Regions from separate parts of the Homo sapiens genome. Here region 1 is linked to region 2. The links are contacts of gene promoters, found by promoter capture Hi-C in human tissues and cell types (Jung and others, 2019). All regions are on one chromosome and are shown on one strand. The core of a region is centred on a gene start or on the middle of the fragment in contact, and the rest is flanking DNA. Distances in the headings are between cores, read along the strand shown. Region 1 has its middle 50 kb from the start of PPP2R2C. Region 2 holds the start of MAN2B2 (mannosidase alpha class 2B member 2).

The links. Contacts are between HindIII fragments. The study calls those that stand out against the background at their distance.
Region 1: a contact is called between a fragment that was not itself captured here and the fragment with the promoter of MAN2B2 in region 2, in 2 of the 25 tissues and cell types used here (bladder and dorsolateral prefrontal cortex).

The regions. Positions count from the first base shown.
Region 1 is chr4:6,521,342-6,524,493 of GRCh38, reverse strand. It overlaps a transcript of PPP2R2C not described here. Among named protein-coding and RNA genes, the nearest start is that of PPP2R2C, 50 kb to the right of the region's middle. The HindIII fragment of the contact is 6,467 bases long and covers 1-3,152 here.
Region 2 is chr4:6,573,329-6,576,705 of GRCh38, reverse strand. MAN2B2 (mannosidase alpha class 2B member 2) reads right to left here and starts at 1,517. Exons shown (of 19, transcript NM_015274.3): 1 at 1,358-1,517; 2 at 1-128. The coding sequence starts at 1,495. LOC105374365 (a long non-coding RNA gene) reads right to left here. Exons shown (of 3, transcript XR_925098.3): 2 at 3,099-3,197; 3 at 2,368-2,515. RefSeq lists a silencer at 1,268-1,727 and enhancers at 1,016-1,784, 1,785-2,552, 2,553-3,321. The HindIII fragment of the contact is 15,458 bases long and covers 1-2,828 here.

The DNA of each region.
Region 1 (3,152 bases), core at 173-2,672, 52 kb after region 2:
TCTGGTTCTGAGAGCAGCTGATTCGTGAATCGTTTTTTGCTCAATTAAACCTTAATTTTAACTTGTCATACTCAGTAAGCAGTCACTCCCATTCCTCCTCCTTCTAGTCCCTGGCAACCATGAGTCCACTTTCTGTTGCGGTGAATCTGCCTGTTCTGGACAGTGCATGGAAATGGAATCATGCAGTTCACTTACATTCAGCTTCTTTCATTTGGCCGAGTGTTTTCAAGGCTCATCCAGGATGTAGCTCGCATTAGAACTTCATTCCTTCTGACTGGGCACAGTGGCTCACGCCTGTAATTCCGGCACTTTGGGAGGCTGAGGCAGGCTGATCACTTGAGGTCAGGAGTTCGAGACCAGCCAGACCAACATGGTGAAACCCTGTCTCTACTAAAAAAAAAAAAAATACAAAATTAGCCAGGCCTGGTGGCAGGCACCTGTAATCCCAGCTACTAGGGAGGCTGAGGCAGGAGAATTGCTTCAACCTGGGAGGCGGAGGTTGCAGTGAACCGAGATCACGCCATTGCACTCCAGCCTGGTCAACAAGAGCGAAACTGTCTCAAAAAAACAAAAACAAAAACAAAAACAAAACTTCATTCCTTCTCCGGGCTGAATATGTTCCACTGTATGAGTGGACCACATTTTGCTTATCCATTCGTCTGTGGATGGATGGATACTTAGGGTGTTTCCATTGTTTGGCCATTATGAATAAGGCTGCTGGGAACATTCGCGTTCCAGTGTTCATGTGGATGTGTGTTTTCAGTGTTCCGTGATAGACACCCAGGAGTGGAATTGGTAGGTCACAGGATAATTCCAGGTTTAATTTGTTGCGGCGGTACCAAGCTTTTTTTGCGGTGGCCCTGCCGCTTCACCTGCCCCCAGCAGTGTGTGCAGGTCCCGCGTCTCTCCCAACAGCCAACACTCGCTTTGCATTTGGATTCCAGACATCCTCGTGGGTGTGCGTTGTCTCATTGTGACTTTGATTTGGATTTCCCTAATGACTCATCACGTTGAGCAACCTTTCCTGTGCATGCTGACCATTCGGTGAAATGTATGTGTCCAAGGCCACTGCCCATTTTGAAATTGGGTTGTTTGTCTTTTTGTTGTTATCATCCATGAGGAAAACAAGGATCAGAGAGGGTGAGTAACTTGCCCCAGGCCACACAGCAAGAAGGAGGGAAGACAGCCTTAGAAACCCAGTGGGCCTGACTCTGAAGTCTTGTGTTCTTTCTTTCAAACATAAGGGAGCTGGTGGTTGGGGCTAGGGAAGGCCTTTATTTCCTCTGGAGCAGCTGCTTGGGATGCATCCTGGATTTCTTGCCCCTCCGCAGCACTTGCCCCTCTGAGGGCACAGTCCTTGGACATGGTTCTCAACAGGACACTCCTGGGGAATGTGATCAGGAGGCCCTGGAACCGCACTTGGAGAAACACTGGCTTGGGGTTTGCCATAGGACGTATGACTTCTTGACCCAAGGCTTGAGTTCGGAGCCTCCCCGGTCCACCCCTGCCAGGCTGCTGTGCATCTGCGGCCTGCCCCTCTCCCTGCCTCAGCTTCCTCATCTGTGTAATAGTGAGAGAGGAATGGGATCCCACAGTGCTTAGAAAGCCATTAGGAGTATCAGGGGATGGTCCCTATTGGTGTGTCTGTCTGTTTGTCTGTCTCCCTCCTGGGCGGAGTGCCTCCAAAGTGGGAGCTGTGTCTGGCTCAGCAGATATTAGCCAAGAACCAGGGGCCAAGGAGAAGGGCCCCAGGGCAGACCCCTGCTGAGACCTCAGCATCCTGTGGTATCAGAAACTGGTGCAGCTGGTCCCTCCGTGCCCTGTGGCCACTTCTGGGTGCTCACGCAGCCAGCCCCTGGGCCCACATTTGAGCAGAACTCAGTGCTCAATGTGGTTCCTGTGGGGGAATCCACCATGCCCGGTGACTCCGGGGGCCCCAGCCCTGCCATCCCCGTGTGGGGAACATGGGGCTGGAGGGAACACAGGGTGGGAATTCTTGGAGCTCTGGAAGCAGGTGCTTGGGAAGCATGAGGGTCTTGGAATCTCAGGTCTGGATTCACTTGTGTCCCCAGCTGTGGGGTCTGGGGGGGCACATTGTGGACCTCGCCAGCCTCAATTTCCCACCTCTACAGTGAGGATTGGTAATGCCCGGGAGTGCTCCCAGCACGGCTGGGGTTATGTTCATTTGAACAACTACTGAATGACATCAGCCTTCCTGGGTACTTACATTTTGGGGTCTCAGAAAAGGGTTAAAGGCAGCAACTTTCTGCCTCTGTTGGAGTCCCAGATACCCTCTTCCTGGGGTAGGGCAGACTCCAGGCCAAGGGACCAGGAAAGGCAGGGAGAAGGCAGGAGAGTGGGTGGGAGGGAGCTGTGAGTGGCCGGGAGAGTGCAGGCAGGAGCGGTGCATTTCACAGAGACAGGCCCATCGGGTGAGGTTTGGAAACAACACTTCTCTGTTCCCAGAGCTCAGTGGCCCCCACTTGTCATGGCCCCCAAAGCCATTGGCTTAGGGGCCCCCTTGCCTCTTGGGGAGAACAGAACCCAATAAGAGCAAAGTAGTCACCGCTGGAGGCAGGTTTAGTGGGTGGCTCTGGAGGCAGATGGCCTGGTGTGCTTCCCGGCTCTTCCGTGAGCTGTGCCTCAGTTTCCTCATTTGTAATATGAGGGTAGCAATAATTCCTCCCTCATAGCTAGCTCTTGGATGGTAGTAAATGCTCACAAATGGGCTGTTCTGCAGATGCAGTGTGTGGCAAGGGAGAGTGGCCCCCTGGAAAGGGGACCGGTGGCCAGTCCAGGGGAAGCGGTACCAGCTCCTGTGTAAGTGCCTCCTACGTATGAACTCACATCACCTCGAGGGAGGAGAGGAGGGCCCTGGAGGGGTGGGACGTGGGTTAGGGCTCCTGAGACGACTCCTAAGAAGTGCATACGCAGGGAGATGAAGCCACACTGAATGGGTGGGCTCCTCTCTGGAGCACTGGGAGGAAGCCACTGTGTGGGGTGTCCCTTGTTAGGGCCTTGAGGGGGCTCAATGAATGGCAGAAGCTTCTAACCCACCTGAATGATACATTGAAGTCCCCGCTTTCTGGCTAGATCATGGGAGAGGGGAGCCCTGGTGAATGAGAAGATCCTGGAGGCAGTTGGTAAAGAGT
Region 2 (3,377 bases), core at 268-2,767:
GAGGCGACGCCATCCCACCACAGCCGGAAAAACTCCTGCTCCACAGCGATGAACCGGCGCTGCTGGCCGCGGGCCAGCTCTTCCACCACTGAGGTGTAGACATTGGCGGCGTACGCCCGCATGCTTTCCTGGGGAGGGGACAGCATCATGCCAGCCCCGGTCCAACAAGACCAAGTGTCCCTGGGGCCCCTGCCATTCGCCAGGTGTGTCTGCATGGGGTTGGGGGCTCTGCCCTTCCTTCCCTGCTGCTCACCCCCCACACAGCTATTAGGCACTCGCTCCATACCAGGCTCTCCCCACTGGATGGGATCGTGCTCTCCTGGGGGAGAGGGACGGGGAAACAGACACCCTACATGGGCAGAGACAGGTGCCCTCCCAGCCCAGGGGTCAGGGACAGTTTCTCAGAGGGGTGAGCAAGCTGGGCCTTGAGTGTGCAATTTGGGGGGCTGGGCCCTGAGTGTGCCATTGAGGGGCAGCACAGGAAAGTCTTAGGCCTCAGTCGGGGTGTGGTCCAGTGACCCCAAAGGGGCCTGCTGGGGCTGAAATGAGGAAAGCTGGTGCTGAGAGGAAGAGCTCCCCAGGCTGTCCCTGGCGTCTAGGCGTCTGCCTCCCCAAGGCTGGGAGCTCCAAGGACCACAGCTGTAGTGTGTTCCCATCCGAGTCCCGAGGGCCCTGCACACAGGGTGCCCACAGAGTGCTTACATGAATGGAAGGAGCACCGAGCAGGGAGTCAGGAGGCATGAGGGTTATTCCCGAGCGACCTTGGGCAAGGCAGCAACCCTCTCTGGGCCTCGGTTTTCTCCTCTGGAAACTGGCTGTAGTGGGCATGCTTCCCCTACCCTTTACAGATGGGGAAACTGAGGCTTAGGGACCAAAGCCCCTCGCCCAAGGTCCTGAGCAGAACCAGGAGGTGACCACAGGTCCACCTTCACCCCTGTCCTGGGGGGCGGAGGACGCTGAGCTGGCCTCCAATATTCAGCCCCGCAGGGGACCAGCCCGGCCCCTTCCCAGCGGGCACCTGACATCCACCTGCTCTGAAGCCAGCCCCACCCTCTCCTGCTCCAGGCTTCCCTGGAAAATGGGTTACCACTGTCAACCCCCAAGCCCCTCCCCAGCCGGGAATGCAGGGGTCCCTCCAATCTGCACCACCCTCCAGAAGGGGAAATGGGGGTTCAGAGGCAGGAAGTGACTGGCCCGAAGTTAGCGACGCAACCAGTCAATGGCAGCGTGGGGTCCTGAACCCACTGAGCCTCCTTCTGCGCCGGCATCGGGCCCCGGGACGCAAACCCACACTCAGATCCCGCGGGGAGAGGGAAGCTGCAGCCTCAGGGGCGCGCGGGGCGTGGTCGGCACCTACCTGCACAGTGTAGACCCAGCCCACGTCCATGTGGCTGTGGGGCACCACGAAGGCCCGGATGGGGCCGGCGGACTGGACCCCTGGCGGTCGCAGCAACAGGAGCGGTGCCAGCAGCGGCAGCCAGCACAGCTGCCCCATCCCTGCGGCAGGCCGGGAAGGTGCCAGGCCCACTTCCGGGTCCGCGAGGGGCGGGGCGGCCGCGCGGGCGGGGACGCGGCCCATTGGCTGCGGGCGGGGGCGGGGCCCATTGGTTGCCGGCTGGACGCCGACCCCGGGAAGCTCGGGAAGGAGGAGCTGGAGGCGCGGGGCCCTCAGCGGGGCAGGGCGCCTGCTCTTTGCGGTTTAGCTCTCCATCCCCGTCTCCAGCTTTCTGGCCTTCCCTCCCTGTCCATCCTTTCAGCCCCATCTCCCCCAAGCCTGCCAGATCTCCCCCAACCAGAGGAGACCCCTCCTCGCCCAAAGCCCACGCTCTGGTGGTTCCTCTCGGAGCGTGTGCCTCTTCGCAATACCTGCATCCCGCCCTCTGGACTCGGCTCCGGGACTCTGAGGCTACCGTGCAAAATTCGGCTCAGCACGGACCCTGTGAGCTCTGCCACCAGGAACCTTCCCTGATAACCCTTTCCCTCCTCTCCCTGGCGTCGAAACCCCATCTGGGCGGCGCCATGGGGGGCTTGTTATGGGACTGTCTCCTTTTTTTTTTTTTGGACAGGATCTCACTCTGTCTCCCAGGCCGGAGTGCAGTGGCGCGATCAGGGCTCACTGCAGCCTTGACCTCCCGGGCCCAAGTGATCCTCCCACCTCAGCCTCCTGAGTAGCTGGGACCACAGGGGCACACTGCCACACCCAGCTAATTAAAAAAAAAATTTATAGAGATGGGGGCCTCACTATGTTGCCCAGGCTGGTCCCAAACTCCTGAGCTCAAGCGATCCTCCTGCCTCCGCCTCTCAAAGTGCTGGGATTACAGGCATAAACCAGCATGCCTGGCTCAACTGTCTCCATTTTAAGGAGGAGAACTGGCTTTCAGAGACAGTAACTGACTTGTCCAAGATCACGCAGTTAGTGGAGGAGCCAAGAGAAGCTTTCTGGGTTACTGGATGGTGACCTGGGGCGACATAGGTAACCTCGCTGAGCCTCAGTGAAATGGGTCCGATAGAGGAGCTGTGAACAAAGTAAGGATGCACCCAGGCTGAGAGCGTGAGCACAGCACCCCTTGCCTGCACTCAGGGGAGGTGCGGTCACATTGGTGCAGCCTGTTTGGGACTGTTGCCTGGAGTCAGCCCTGTCCACTACTCCCTGCCCAAGAAAGCAAGGGTCTGTGGCTTGGGGTTTACTGTCTGAGAACCACTTGGCTGTGCCCCTGCCTGGCATTTCCTAGCGGAACCAGAGCTGCAGCTCTGAGCAAAAGTGCTGGTCCTCTTGTCCATTATGTAACAAATGGAAACTGAGAACAGGTTCTCCAAGCAGGTCTCCCTCCTCCTTCTGTCCTGTCCACCCCCTGGGGACCCCTGCATCCCCATAGCCTCAGGTCAGATGGTCTGAGCCTGACGTGGACAGTACTCACTAACACATGTCCCCATGACCGGCCAGGCTCACAGCTGGGCTCCACTCTCCAGCCTCTGCAACCAGGTGCGGCCACGTGGCTAAGTGCTAGTCAATGGGATGGGTGGGGGCGGGCACTGTGCTCCTCTTCCAGGCTGGCCCCTAACAACCTCCTGTGGGTGAGCCCTGCTCTCTTACTCACCCACTGCTCCAGTGGAGGGCACTCCGAGGACCTCAGGGAGGTTAGAGCCACCAATGGAGGCTCTGAAGAACCACATGGAACCATGAGGAACCCAAAGAGCTGTGACAAGAGGGAGAAATAAGCTTTAATTGTGTTAAGCCACTGAGTTTATCGATAAGGCAGTGTCACAATCTTTGGCAGACTGTATCTGCCAAAGATGGGCTCCACAACATTACCCACCCCCCAAGCTCTTTGTAGAATTTGGTTGACGAGAAAAGCCACACTCTAAAATATCTCAGA